Regions from separate parts of the Homo sapiens genome. Here all the other regions are linked to region 4. The links are contacts of gene promoters, found by promoter capture Hi-C in human tissues and cell types (Jung and others, 2019). All regions are on one chromosome and are shown on one strand. Each heading gives the region's core, a stretch centred on a gene start or on the middle of the fragment in contact. The rest is flanking DNA. Distances are from core to core; before and after follow the strand shown.

Region 1 (2,700 bases), core at 59-2,558, 570 kb before region 4:
GGCTCACGCCTGTAATCCCAGCACTTTGGGAGGCCGAGGCAGGTGGATCACTTGAGGTCAGGAGCTTGAGACCAGCCTGACCAACATAGTGAAACCCCATCTTTACTAAAAATACAAAATTAGCTGGGCGTGGTGTCGCATGCCTGCAATTCCAGCTACTTGGGAGGCTGAGGCAGGAGAATTGCTTGAACCCGGAGGCAGAGGTTGCAGTAAGCCGAGATCGTGCCATTGCACTCCATCCTGGGCAACAAGAGCAAAACTCCGTCTCAAAATAATAATAATAATAATAATAATAATAATAATAATAATGTGTATACCCATGTAAACACCATTCAGATAAAAATATGGCATATTTGGGGCACCCGGGGAGTGTCTCTTGTGGCCCCTCCCCTCCATACCCTGCTGATCTATCAGCACAGATTAGTTTCTGCCACTTTTTAAACTTCATATTCCTTTTCTTTTTACACAAACACAAACATTCGAGTCATGACTGGGTGGGGTGGCTCAAGCCTGTAATCTCAGCACTTTGGGAGGCCAAGGTGCGAGGATCGCTTGAGTCTGGGAGTTCAGAGACCAGCCTGGGCAACATAGAGAGACCTCATCTCCACATAAAAAGTTTTAAAAATTAACCAGGGGCGGTGTAGTCCCAGCTACTCAGGAGGCTGAGGTGGGAGGCTTCAGCCCGGGAATTCCAGACTGCAGTGAGCCATGATTGGGCCACTGCACTCCAGCCTGGGCAACACAGTGAGACCCTGTCTCAAAAAAAAAAAAAAAAAAAACAGGAAAAAACAAACAAACAGAAAAGCAGGCCTGGCGCGGTAGCTCATGCCTGTAATCCCAGCGCTTTGGAAGGCTGAGACGGGGTTATCTCTTGGGCTCACAAGTTAGAGACAAGCCTGGGCGTGGGCTATATTGCTAGATCCAGGTCTCTGCAAAAAACAAAACCACTCAGTTTTTAGTCATCTATAACGTCCTGCCTGGAAGCATGCTATTTTGGGCCTCTGAGCTTTTGCACTTGCTAATTCCTTCTGCGCTGGGGAGAGCTCAAACCCTGCCCGAAACTTCTAAAAATGGTGCCTGGATAAATGAAGGCATTAGAGCTGCGATTGGACGGACGGCTGTTGGACGGCGCCACTGCTGGCACTTATCGGGAGATGCTCATTGGACAGTCACGTGACGGGACCAAACCTCCCGAGGGAGCGAGGCAGGTGCGGTCACGTGACCCGGCGGCGCTGCGGGGCAGCGGCCATTTTGCGGGGCGGCCACGTGAAGGACGCACGTTCAGCGGGGCTCTCACGTGACCCGGGCGCGCTGCGGCCGCCCGCGCGGACCCGGCGAGAGGCGGCGGCGGGAGCGGCGGTGATGGACGGGTCCGGGGAGCAGCCCAGAGGCGGGGGTGAGGCGGGAGGCAGACGGGCGGGAGGAGGGCGAGCCCCCTCGCCGGCCCGTCCGGGATCCTTCCTACCGGCCTGGGGCTGTGCGATCTCCAAGCACTGAGGGGCAGAAACTCCCGGATCGGGCGCTGCCAGCCTCCAGTCCCCTCCGTCCTCGGAGGTTCCTGGCTCTCTGATCCCCGTGTCCCGATCCCTGCCTCTCTGGCGCTCTCGGACCCTCGAGAACCAGGGGATCTCGGAAGCCAAGCCCCCGGGCAGGCCCGGGCTTGTCGCCCGCACCACTTCCTGCCTCTGGCACTGGTGGGAGGGGCGGGTCTCGCCTCTGCCCCCTCAGGCCAGGGGTCTGGATGCATATAGCGTTCCCCTAGCCTCTTTCCCCGGGGAGAATGTAGGATACAGGCCCAGCCTCCTGGCCTTTCTCCATCAGGGACTCAGTTGTCTGGGCCCCCCCGTCACTTTATCTGCTAGGGTCCCAGAAGTCCAGGGTCCCCAGCTCTGTCCTCCCTCAGGGGCCGTGAGTCTCCACAGTCTCCTGATCCCCTAGAACCCAAGAGTCCAGGTACCTCTTCCCTTCCTTTCTCCTCTAGGGCCCACCAGCTCTGAGCAGATCATGAAGACAGGGGCCCTTTTGCTTCAGGGGTGAGTTTGAGGTCTGATTATTGTGGCACAGATTTGAGGAGTGACACCCCGTTCTGATTCTGCACCCTCACTCCATCCCCACTCTAGTTTCATCCAGGATCGAGCAGGGCGAATGGGGGGGGAGGCACCCGAGCTGGCCCTGGACCCGGTGCCTCAGGATGCGTCCACCAAGAAGCTGAGCGAGTGTCTCAAGCGCATCGGGGACGAACTGGACAGTAACATGGAGCTGCAGAGGTGTGGGCCCCTGAGGACCCAGAAGTCCAGCCACTGGGCTCCTTCAGGACACAGGACTCTCAGCCCCGCATTCTCCTCCTCCCCTAAGAACTAGGAGTCTGGGCCCCACAACTCAGCGCAAACATTCCGGACTCCCAGCCCTCCTCTCTGCCAGGATCTTAAAACCCTCCTTCAGGGAGTCATTTTTCCCACCTTCCTAAATGTCTGTCTTGTCCCCTTCCCTTGTCCCCCGTTGGCCTGTTGCTTTTCATTTCAGCCTGGCTTGGGGCTCAGTCTCCTTATCTTTAGTGTGCGGTGGATGCGGGAATTTTCCACCATCAGCCTGATGCCTGCTCCCCGGCACTGGTTCTCCTCTCTCCTGCAGGATGATTGCCGCCGTGGACACAGACTCCCCCCGAGAGGTCTTTTTCCGAGTGGCAGCTGACATGTTTTC
Region 2 (2,700 bases), core at 14-2,513, 520 kb before region 4:
CACGCCATTCACAGCCATCGCCGGCAGTGAAATCTTCTCCCTGGAGATGAGCAAGACCGAGGCGCTGACGCAGGCCTTCCGGCGGTCCATCGGCGTTCGCATCAAGTAAGCGGGGGACCCGAGGCGGGTGCCAGACCCCAGAGCCTGGGAGCAACCCCGCACCCCGGGCGGCTCGTCCTTTGTCCCAGAGCTCATGGAAGGTTGTGATTCCCGAGGGTCCAGGTGTCAGGCTGTCTCCTCAGATCTGCTCTCTGGCTAGGGAGGAGACGGAGATCATCGAAGGGGAGGTGGTGGAGATCCAGATTGATCGACCAGCAACAGGGACGGTGAGTCTGTGTGAGTCTGTACCCTGCTGAGGCCACCTCCAGCGCCAGGGTTGGAGAGAGTAGATATCAGGTCTGCACTGAGGTCAGAATCCCATGGAATGTTCTAGCTGCAGACTAGAGCCATGTACATGCCTACAGTAGGAGGTCAGTTAACTTGACAATGGCTTATCCCCTTATGAAGGACATTATGGGCAATAGAAACTGAGGCGGTAAAATAATGAGAGAGATCTGTTAGTGAGTTCCCAACAGACCTCAAAACCCAACAGACTTCAAAACTCGTTCCGTGGCCGAAAGGCATGTCCTGTCCATCTTACATGATACAGGTGATTTGCTCTCTCTTTTTTTTTTGTTTTCGAGACAGAGTCTCCCTCTGTCCCCCAGACTGGAATGCAGTGGTGCAATCTCGGCTCACTGCAACCTCTGCCTCCCAGGTTCAAGTGATTCTTCTGCCTCAGCCTTCCGAGTAGCTGAGATTACAGGTGTGTGCATGCCACCACGCCCGGCTAATTTTTGTACTTTCAGTAGAGACGGGGTTTCACCATGTTGGCCAGGCTGGTCTTGAACTCCTGACCTCGTGATCTGCCCACCTTGGCCTCCCAAAGTGCTGGGATTACAGCCGTGAGCCACCATACCTGGCCTCTTTTTTTTTTTTTTTTTTTTTTTTTACAATTTCTGTTTTCTCCTTTTTGCATAGCTGTGTTTTCTGATTTTGTGATCAACAAAAACACTTTTTATTTGGGTATAAAATAGGAATGTCAAAGTGTGACATTTGGCAATTTTGCGAGACCTCGGGCCTATGTTGTTTTTGATAGACTTTATTTTTTAGGCATGTTGTTTGTTTACTATTTTTATTTTTTATTTTTATTTTATTTTATTATAATTTTTTTTTTGAGATGGAGTCTTGCTCTGTTGCCCAGGCTGGAGTGCAGTGGCACAATCTCAGCTCACGGCAAGCTCTGCCTCCCGGGTTCATGCCATTCTCCTGCCTCAGCCTCCCGAGTAGCTGGGACTACAGGCACCTGCCACCACGCCCGGCTAATTTTTTGTATTTTTAGTAGAGACGGGGTTTCACTGTGGTCTCGATCTCCTGACCTTGTGATCTGCCCGCCTCGGCCTCCCAAAGTGCTGGGATTACAGGTGTGAGCCACTGCACCCTGCCTGTTTACTATTTTTATTAAGAGCTTTATTGAGTTTTGGCCAGGCGCAGTGGCTCACACCTGTAATCCCAGCACTTTGGGAGGCTGAGGTGGGCGATCACTTGAGATCAGGAGTTCGAAACGAGCCTGACTAACATGGTGAAACCCTGTCTATACTAAAAATACAAAATGGCTGGGCGCGGTGGTTCATGCCTATAATCCCAGCACTTTGGGAGGCCGAGGCGGGTGGATCACCTGAAGTCAGGAGTTCAAGACCAGCCTGACCAACATGGTGAAACCCTGTCTCTACTAAAAATACAAAAAATTAGCTGGGCGTGGTGGTGGGTGCTTGTAATCCCAGCTACTTGGGAGGCTAAGGCAGGAGAATCGCTTGAATCTGGGAGGCAGAAGTTGCAGTAAGCCGAGATCACACCATTGCACTCCAGCCTGGGCAACAAGAGCGAAACTCCATCTCAAAAATAAATAAATAATAAAAACACAAAACAATTAGCTGGGTATGGTGGCACACATCTGTAATCCCAGCTACTTGGGAGGCTGAGGCAGGAGAACTACTTGAACCCGGGAGATGGAGGTTGGAGTGAGCTGAGATCACACCACTGCACTCCAGCCTGGGCGACAGAGCAAGACTCTATCTCAAAAAAAAAAAAAAAAAAAAAAAAAAAAAAAAAAAAGAGCTTTATTCACCAGGCGCAGTAGCTCACTCCTGTAATCCCAGCACTTTGGGAGGCCGAGGTGGGCAGATCACAAGGTCAGGAGATCGAGACCATCCTGGCTATCACAGTGAAACCCCATCTCTACTAAAAATACAAAAATTAGCCATGCGTGGTGGCGGGCGCCTGTAGTCCCAGCTACTCGGGAGGCTGAGGCAGGAGAATGGCGTGAACCCGGGAGGCAGAGCTTGCAGTGAGCCGAGATCATGCTACTACACTCCAGCGTGGGCGACAGAGCAAGACTCCGTCTCAAAAAAAAAAAGAACTTTATTGAGTTTTAATTGACATACAGAAAGCTGTACACATTGCAAGTGTCCAGTATGGTCCGTTGGGACATACATGTTCAGCCGCGGAGCCATCACCGCGTCAGGCTGGTGAGCGCACCGTATGTCTTCCCTGGAGAGCTTCCTTGTGTTGTGCCCATTTTGAAGCTGTGGAAGCAGAGGCCAGAGCAGAGCCAGAAGCTTATCAACACTGGGGGCACTGGGGCAACATCAGGGCCCTCTC
Region 3 (2,700 bases), core at 98-2,597, 900 kb before region 4:
TCCCCACATGATAAAGGCCTGCATGCAGTTAGCTCTTGCTTGCTAAGGATGCTTGTTCCCTAGCAACAAGGCCTTCATGGTCTGAGGGCTTCTCCCAATGAAGAGCACTGCCCTGCCCTGCACATTGCCTTTCCAGATCCTGGTTGCTAAGGAAAGCTTGGTGCCCTGGTGATGGGGTTTGGTGTCCCATAAAATCCTCGCAGAGCTGGGGCCTTCTGACCTGGTTGCCAAGGCAACCTCATCCATCCTTGGCAAACAAAAGTGAGGTCTAAGTGGTTTCAATGACTGTGGCCAGCCTCTGACCTGCTGGCCTTGAACTGAGGCCAGAGAATAGCCTCCTCCCCAGTAGGACCTGACTGAGAGAAGAGCTGTCTCTTAGGAAAGGGGACTATCCTGAGACCTCCCCAGAGGATTATACCTAAAGTCCTCCCATCCTGGAAGTTGGTTCCTAAGGAAGACTCCTCCTTAGTAACCAAGGACCACGGGGCTCAGAAAGATGCTCTCTACTCCACTATTTAATTAAAGCCCAGTTCCTGCTTGTGAGGGTAAATCCAGTCCCTAGCAACAGGGCCCTCTAGAAGGAGAAACCACTGGTGTAGATCTGACTTCCAGGCCAGTCCTAGGTGCTTCAAGTAGCTATGTGTTACGCAAGGGTATGGCAAAGTCTTGTTTGTTTTTGAGATGGAGTCTCGCTCTGTCGTTCAGGCTGGAATGCAGTGGCATGATCTCGGCTCATTGCAACCTCCACCTCCCAGGTTCAAGCGATTCTCCTGCCTCAGCCTCCCAAGTAGCTGGGATTATAGGTGCCCGCTACCATGTCCGGCTAATTTTTGTTCTTTTTTTTTTTTTTTGAGATGGAGTTCTCACTCTGTCGCCCAGGCTGGAGTGCAGTGGCGCGATCTCGGCTCACTGCAACCTCCGTCTCCTGGGTTCAAGCGATTTTCCTACATTAGCCTCCCAAGTAGCTGGGACTACAGATGAGTGCCACCATGCCCAGCTAATTTTTGTATTTTTTTGTAGAGACGGGGTTTCACCATGTTGGCCAGGATGGTCTCCTGATCTCGTGATCTGTCCGCCTCGGCCTCCCAAAGTGCTGTGATTACAGGTGTGAGACACCACACCCGGAACATTTTTGTACTTTTAGTAGAGGCGAGGTTTCACCATGTTGGCCAGGCTGGTCTCAAACTCCTGACCTCAAGTGATCCGCCCACCTCAGCCTCCTAAAGTGCTAGGATTACAGGCGTGAGCCAACGCGCCTGGCCCGGAATGACAAAGTCTTGTAACAGAAGCCCAAGCAACTCTTGCTAGGGAAGACTCCAGTAATGGCAAAAAACAAAATCATGCAAAGATGCAATGACTGCTCAAATCACCCCAAATCAGAAAGTGGCACTGGCTGCTAACAGAAGCCTGAAGTCTCCCACCAGTGAGAAGTCCAGGCCCAGGAAACAAGGCCTAAAGGGGCTGGCACAGTCTTCATCCTAGCCAAATGCAATCACTCCAAAGGAAGTCCCACATCAGAGATCAAAGGCCTGCTGAGTAAGGAGAGACAGGCCACAGGCTGATATCCCATTGCCAAAGGAAGACTGTCCTTTGCAAGTGTGCCTGGTGGAGCTCTGGACCCAAGTAATAGGAGAAGCTCCAAGTCTCTACAAGTAGACCTAGCAGAGCTGGCTGAGTCAGCACCCCACAGTGACACTGTCTTTTGTTTTAAGACAAGGTCTCCCTCTGTTGCCCAGGCTGGAGTGCAGTGGTGTAATCTTGGCTCACTGCAGCCTCAATCTCCCAGGCACAAGCAGTCCTCCCACCTCAGCCTCCCAAGTGGCTTGTAGAAATGGGGTTTTGCCATGTTGCCCAGGCTGGTCTTGAACTCCCGAGCTCAAGAGATCCTCCTGCCTCAGCCCCCTAAAATGCTGGGATTACACGAGTGAGGCCCCTCGCCCAGTTGACACTGTCTTTATAAACCTCAGGCCCCTGCCCCCTTGTGCCCCGTGGCCAAGGAGGACTAATCTGTGGCTGCAGGCCAGGAGAGGCTGAGCACTAATCCCAAGGAGAAGCCCAGGCTTGACTGTGAGAAAAGGCCCCTCCCTGGCTGTGGGGCATGTCTCCAGCCAAGTCTATCTCCCACATCCAGCTCTGCTCACCTTCTGCTCCTCCGGCACCTGGATTTTTCTTGCCTTCTTCATGATTGGCTGGGGCTTAAGTTCCTCTTCTGAGAAGCGATGTCTTCGAGGGTCAAAGGTCTCGTGGCCAGGAATGCTTGATAGGGCAAGATCAGCTGGGTCGGGTTCAAAGGTCATCAACACCTCCACGGTGTCTGGGTCCACAGGGCTGGGTGTGTCCCGAGAGGTCAGGCCTTGGGGAAACAGCACGTGTCAGCTGAGTGTGTATTTTAAGGAGGGGGTTTCCTGAAGCTACTTTTTGCTGTGGTATCATAGCCACATGGAAAGTCCTTCTGGGATCTAGCATAAATTCGGCCAGGGATTAATCTCCCTAATATAAAATATGAAGGTTCCCTTGGCCAGGCGCAGTGGCTCACGCCTGTAACCCCAGCAGTTTGGGAAGCCGAGGCGGCGAATCACCTTTAGTCAGGAGTTCAAGACCAGCATGGCCAACATGGAGAAACCTCATCTTTACTAAAAGTACGAAAATTGCCCAGGTGTAGTGGCGGGTGCCGGTAAGCCCAGCTACTAGGGAGGCTGA
Region 4 (2,700 bases), core at 177-2,676:
CTCCCTGGGTTCACGCCATTCTCCTGCCTCAGGCTCCCGAGTAGCTGGGACTACAGGCGCCTGCCACCATGCCTGGCTAATTTTTTGTATTTTTAGTACAGACGGGGTTTCACCATGTTAGCCAGGATGGTCTCGATCTCCTGACCTCATGATCCACCCGCCTCTGCCTCCCAAAGGGGTGGGATTACAAGTGTGAGCCACCGCGCCCGGCCTAAGGTCACTTTTTTTTTTTTTTTTTAAGACAGAGTTTTGCTCTTGTTGCTCAGACTGGAGTACAATTGCGTGATCTCAGCTCACTGCAACCTCCGCCTCCCAGGTTCAAGCAATTCTCCTGCCTCCCAAGTAGCTGGGATTACAGGCATGCACCACCACACCCGGCTAATTTTTTGTATTTAGTAGAGACGGGGTTTCACCATGTTGGTCAGGCTGGTCTGGAACTCCTGACCTCAGGTGATCCACCTGCCTCAGCTTCCCAAAGTTCTGGGATTACAGGCATTGAGCTACTGTGCTCAACCTGAGGTCATGTATTTTTAATTCATAACTTTTACAAATATTTACTGGATGACTGCCATGCCAGGCATTTTGAGGAATTCTTGGCTACTGTCTGACCACCTGAATCCTTGGAGCCGAAGAGGAGCGAGGAGCAGTGTTCACTCTTGGAGGAAATGGGATATTTCCTCCGGCCCCTTGATTCTGCTCTCCCTTTTCTTTTCTTTTCTTTTCTTTCTTTTTTTTTTTGAGACGGAGTTTCGCTCTTGTTGCCCAGGCTGGAATGCAATGGTGCGATCTCGGCTCACCACAACCTCCGCCTCCCAGGTTCAAGCAATTCTCCTGCCTCAGCCTCCCAAAGTAGCTGGGATTAAAGACATGCGCCACCACACCCGGCTAATTTTGTATGTTTAGTAGAGATGGGGTTTCTCCGTGTTGATCAGGCTGGTCTCGAACTCCCGACCTCAGGCGATCCGCCCGCCTCGGCCTCCCAAAGTTCTGGGATTACAGGCGTGAGCCACCGCGCCCGGCCTTTTTTCTTTTCTTTCGTTCTTTTTGTTTATTTTTGTTTTGTTTTGTTTTGTTTGGTATAGAAGTGTTGGAACGTACACCTCTTTCTTAAACCATCCTGACAAAGGGAAAGGGAAAAATACATTTCCCGTGAGGCGTTGTGACTAGAACAGCTGGAGGTGGACGGCAGAGTGCCGCGACGACTGCCAGGAGTTGTAGTTCTCCCCGGCCGCGTCACTGCGGTGTCGCCCACCCTTCTTCCCCGGGCAGGCCGCGGTTTCCTTTGTGGACGTGGCGAGGAGTGCCCGCGGCACCCCGTGCACTCATTGGCCCCGCCCCGTGAGACGCTCGTGCGAGCTCATTGGGCGGGGGGCGGGGCTCTGCGCTGCCAGAGGCGGGGCCTGACTGGAGAGCGGCCGAATTGGGCACATTTGCGGGAACGCAGAGCGGAGCGTGGAGAGCGGAGCGAAGCTGGATAACAGGGTAAAGGGAGTGGGTGGGGGGCCTCTGTCCAGGGAGGGCGGCTCGGGTCGAGGACCAGGGTCCGGACTGGGAGCAATGACGGGGAGCCTGCCTGACCTCTCGCTGGCCACAACTATGCCCTGCACCTTGCGTGGGATGTGCGCCACGTCTGTCTCTGTAATTCCCCCTGGCAGGTCTGGGACCCCCCTGAGACTCCGTCAGAAGATTCGGTCCTCCCCATAGGTGGCTTTACCTCTAAGCATCCCGCCCTCTTTTCCCCCATCGCCCGCCCTTTTTGAGCCCGAAAGCTTGCAGCCAACTTCCAACTCCCTGTCCTGTCCTAGGTAACCCCTCCACCCCGCCATTCTCCTATCCCGTGTCTGTCCCCATCCCTGTGACCCCTGACCCCTGGCCTTTGCCACTCCCCAGGGACCGATGATGTGGCGACCATCAGTTCTGCTGCTTCTGTTGCTACTGAGGCACGGGGCCCAGGGGAAGCCATCCCCAGACGCAGGCCCTCATGGCCAGGGGAGGGTGCACCAGGCGGCCCCCCTGAGCGACGCTCCCCATGATGACGCCCACGGGAACTTCCAGTACGACCATGAGGCTTTCCTGGGACGGGAAGTGGCCAAGGAATTCGACCAACTCACCCCAGAGGAAAGCCAGGCCCGTCTGGGGTAAGAGAGACATTCGGTTGGGGCGTGTCCAGAGGTGGGGCTTAGGAGAGAGACGCGGGGGTATCGACAGGGGTCAGAGAAATGGCGTGGACTGAACTTCATTTCTTTGTGAGAAATGAAATTCTACCTTCTATCCTTGGGAAAAAGAAATTAAGTTAAAATTGAGGCCTAAAGAGGACCTTTGAGACCGGGCGTGGTGGCTCATGCCTGTAATCCCAGCACTTTGGGAGGCCAAGGCAGGCCGATCACTTGAGGTCAGGAGTTCGAGAACAGCCTGGCCAACATGGTGAAATCCCGTCTCTACTAAAAATACAAAATTAGGCAGGCGTGGTGGTGGGCACCTGTAATCCCAGCTACTCGGGAGGCTGAGGCAGGAGAATCGCTTGAACCTGGGAGGTGGAGGTTGCAGTGAGCCAAAATTGCACCACTGCCCTCCAGTCAGGGCGACAAAGTGAGACTCCGTCTAAAAAACAACAACAACAATAAAAAAGAGGACCTTTGAGGGCAGCAAAATCTGGGTTAGATTCTGCCCCCTAAGCGCTCCTTATTCTTTTGTCCCAGA
Region 5 (2,700 bases), core at 53-2,552, 630 kb before region 4:
GTTGCCCAAGAGAGTCCCTCCTTCCCCCATCCTGCCCCTATCTCAGCTTGGGTTCTGGGCACCTGTGAGGTCACAGGAGGTGCAGAACCTGAGCCTGCTCCACCAGTTATAGGGCCCTTTCTCCTGGCACTGGCCCACAGAAGCCGGGACCCAGAGATCCCAGGTCCCTCCTGTCTCAGGATTCAGGAGTCTGGGGCCCCCAACCCCTTCTCTTTCAGACCCAGAAGTCTGCACCCTAGCCCCATCCCTTCAGGACACAGGAGTCCAGGTCCCCAGCCCCTTCCTGCAAGGCCGATGGTGCTGAACCTGCAAACATGGTTATGAAGCCAGAGCCGAGTGCACGGGGTCCCCAGCCCTTTCCACCTCCACCCCTACCCATCTGTTTCCCTACTCACTCTCTCATCAATGTGTCATTATCCTGAGACATTCTGCAGAAGCAAGAATGAGGAGTCAGGATCAGAACCAACATCCCAATGGATCCTGCCCACCAGCACCTAATCTTTAGCCTTATTTATTTATTTATTTATTTATTTATTTATGTATTTAGAGACAGCTGAGCCTCGCTCTGTCGCCCAGGCTGCAGTGCAGTGGCGCCATCTCGGCCACTGCAACCTCCACCTCCTGGGTTCAAGCGATTCTCCTGCCTCAGCCTCCCGAGTAGCTGGGACTACAGGCGTCCGCTATTCTGCCTAATTTTTTTGTATTTTAGTAGATACCGGTTTTCACTATGTTGGCCAGGCTGGTGCCGGACTCCTGACCTCAGGTGATCTGCCCGCCTTGGCCTTCCAAAGTGCTAGGATTACAGGCATGAGCCACAGTGCCCGGCCTGATCCTTACCTTTAAATTTGCTTCCGGACCCAGGCAGCCCGAATCCCAGCACCCACTCCTGTCGGGATCTAGTAGCCTGTTTCCAGCTTCCCACGGGGGTCCGCAAGTCCGCTTCTCTCTCCCCCAAATATCTAATTCTCCAGCACCCAGGCATCAGAACTCAGGACTGTGCACTTCAAACACCCAGCCCCCAGCGGCCTAGAACTCCACTGCCCACCTGCCTGGGATCCGGGAGACTTGTTCTCCTCACCAGGTGCCTGGAGAGGCTGCTCACATTGATGCCTCGGTACCTTGCCTCTCTGGCCAATCTCTAAACATACCTGATCCTCTCTTTGGAAGCTGGGGACCTAATCTCGGGATATCTGCGAAATAGGGAGGAGAAGAAAGACGGCTCAGAGGGAGGGAGGATTCCCTCTGGGACCTGAACTGGTCCACTCCCTTCTGACCCTCCACTCTCCACTTCCAACAAAGTAACGAACTCGGTCACTGATGCAGCCAGGCAACCCTGCTCCGGGGGTTCTGAACACGAATGCCGTGTGGGGGTTCCTTAAAGAGACCAGAGACCGGCCCGGCGCGGTGGCTCACGCCTGTAATCCCAGCACTTTGGGAGGCCGAGGCGGGCGGATCACGGGGTCAGGAGATCTAGACCATCCTGGCTAACATGGTGAATCCCCGTCTCTACTAAAAAAAAATATATATATATACACAAAAAAATTAGCCGGGCGTTGTGGCGGGCGGGCGCCTGTAGTCCCAGCTACTCGGGAGGCTGAGGCAGGAGAATGGCGTGAACCCGGGAGGCGGAGCTCGCAGTGAGCTGAGATCGCGCCACTGCACTCCAGCCTGTGTGACAGAGGTAGACACCGTCTCAAAAAAAAAAAAAAAAAGAGAGAGAGAGAGCGGGAGACCAGAGACCTCGCGGCCTCACTGTACACATCTCGCTTACAAGAAACTTAAAAGAGGCGGGGCGCAGTGGCTCACGCCTGTAATCCCAGCACTTTGGGAGGCGGAGACGGGGAGGCAAGATTGCTTGAGTCCAGGAGATCCAGATCCAGACCAGCAACACAGAGATTTTTTTTTTTTTTTGAGACGTAGTCTCACTCTGTCGCCCAGGCTGGAGTGCAGTGGCGCGATCTCGGCTCACTGCAACCTCCGCCTCCCGGGTTTAAGAGATTGTCCTGCCTCAGCTTCCTGAGTAGCTGGGATTACAGGCATGCGCAACCACGCCTGGCTAATTTGTATTTTTAGTGGAGGCGAGGTTTCTCCATGTTGGCCAGGCTGGTCTCAAACCCTTGACCTCAGGTGATCTGCCTGCCTCAGCCTCCCAAAGTGCTGGGATTACAGGAGTGAACCCCCAAGCCCGGCTTGACATCCGTCTCTTTAAAAAACAACAACAACAAAGTGTGAGAAGTGTGAAAGACAGAACGTTAAAAAAAAAAAAAGGCTAAAAAAGAATTAAAGATTTAAATATTTGTATTAAAAATTTAAAAAATATACATTAGCCAGGCATGGTAGTGTGGCCTGTGGTCCCATCTACTTGGGAGGCTGACGCGGGAGGATTGCTTGGGCCTGGGAGGTAGAGGCTGCAGTGAGAAGTGATTGCGCCACTGCACTCCAACCTGGGTGACAGAGCAAACCCTGTCTCGAATAATAAGAAGAAGAAGAAAGAAACTCATAAGAAAGGCTATGCAATTGCTACCGCGCTATAACTTCCAGGCACTTCGTGGGGCGAAAATAAATGGGAAAACTACAGCTCCCATGAGGCGAAGGGGCCACGATGCCCGCGGAAGTTATTTTTCCCCCGGCCGGCAGGGAGTTGTAGTTATCTTTGAAAGCCTTCTCTCTCTTTTGGCATAGGCGGGAAATGTGGCGTCA

Evidence for each region. Contacts are between HindIII fragments. The study calls those that stand out against the background at their distance.
Region 1: a contact is called between the fragment with the promoter of BAX here and the fragment with the promoter of RCN3 in region 4, in 1 of the 25 tissues and cell types used here (dorsolateral prefrontal cortex).
Region 2: a contact is called between a fragment that was not itself captured here and the fragment with the promoter of RCN3 in region 4, in 1 of the 25 tissues and cell types used here (dorsolateral prefrontal cortex).
Region 3: a fragment that was not itself captured here is called in contact with the fragment with the promoter of RCN3 in region 4 in 2 of the 25 tissues and cell types used here (heart right ventricle and spleen).
Region 5: a contact is called between the fragment with the promoter of TULP2 here and the fragment with the promoter of RCN3 in region 4, in 4 of the 25 tissues and cell types used here (dorsolateral prefrontal cortex, liver, small bowel and 1 more).

The regions. Positions count from the first base shown.
Region 1 is chr19:48,953,567-48,956,266 of GRCh38, forward strand. BAX (BCL2 associated X, apoptosis regulator) reads left to right here and starts at 1,309. Exons shown (of 6, transcript NM_138761.4): 1 at 1,309-1,396; 2 at 1,982-2,033; 3 at 2,121-2,267; 4 at 2,632-2,700. The coding sequence starts at 1,363. RefSeq lists enhancers at 988-1,556, 1,557-2,124, 1,574-1,783 and a silencer at 1,304-1,453. The HindIII fragment of the contact is 13,021 bases long and covers 1-2,700 here.
Region 2 is chr19:49,007,043-49,009,742 of GRCh38, forward strand. RUVBL2 (RuvB like AAA ATPase 2) reads left to right here. Exons shown (of 15, transcript NM_006666.3): 5 at 1-105; 6 at 260-326. Among named protein-coding and RNA genes, the nearest start is that of MIR6798, 1.5 kb to the right of the region's middle. RefSeq lists an enhancer at 2,398-2,700. The HindIII fragment of the contact is 7,286 bases long and covers 1-2,700 here.
Region 3 is chr19:48,631,303-48,634,002 of GRCh38, forward strand. It overlaps DBP (D-box binding PAR bZIP transcription factor), which reads right to left. Exons shown (of 4, transcript NM_001352.5): 3 at 2,142-2,353. Among named protein-coding and RNA genes, the nearest start is that of DBP, 4.7 kb to the right of the region's middle. The HindIII fragment of the contact is 4,057 bases long and covers 1-2,700 here.
Region 4 is chr19:49,526,577-49,529,276 of GRCh38, forward strand. It overlaps RCN3 (reticulocalbin 3), which reads left to right and starts at 1,427. Exons shown (of 7, transcript NM_020650.3): 1 at 1,427-1,482; 2 at 1,891-2,138. The coding sequence starts at 1,897. RefSeq lists an enhancer at 1,343-1,921 and a silencer at 1,385-1,504. The HindIII fragment of the contact is 21,368 bases long and covers 1-2,700 here.
Region 5 is chr19:48,897,442-48,900,141 of GRCh38, forward strand. It overlaps TULP2 (TUB like protein 2), which reads right to left and starts at 1,303. Exons shown (of 13, transcript NM_003323.3): 1 at 1,149-1,303; 2 at 396-428. The coding sequence starts at 427. RefSeq lists an enhancer at 698-1,513 and a cis regulatory region at 1,048-2,047. The HindIII fragment of the contact is 17,343 bases long and covers 1-2,700 here.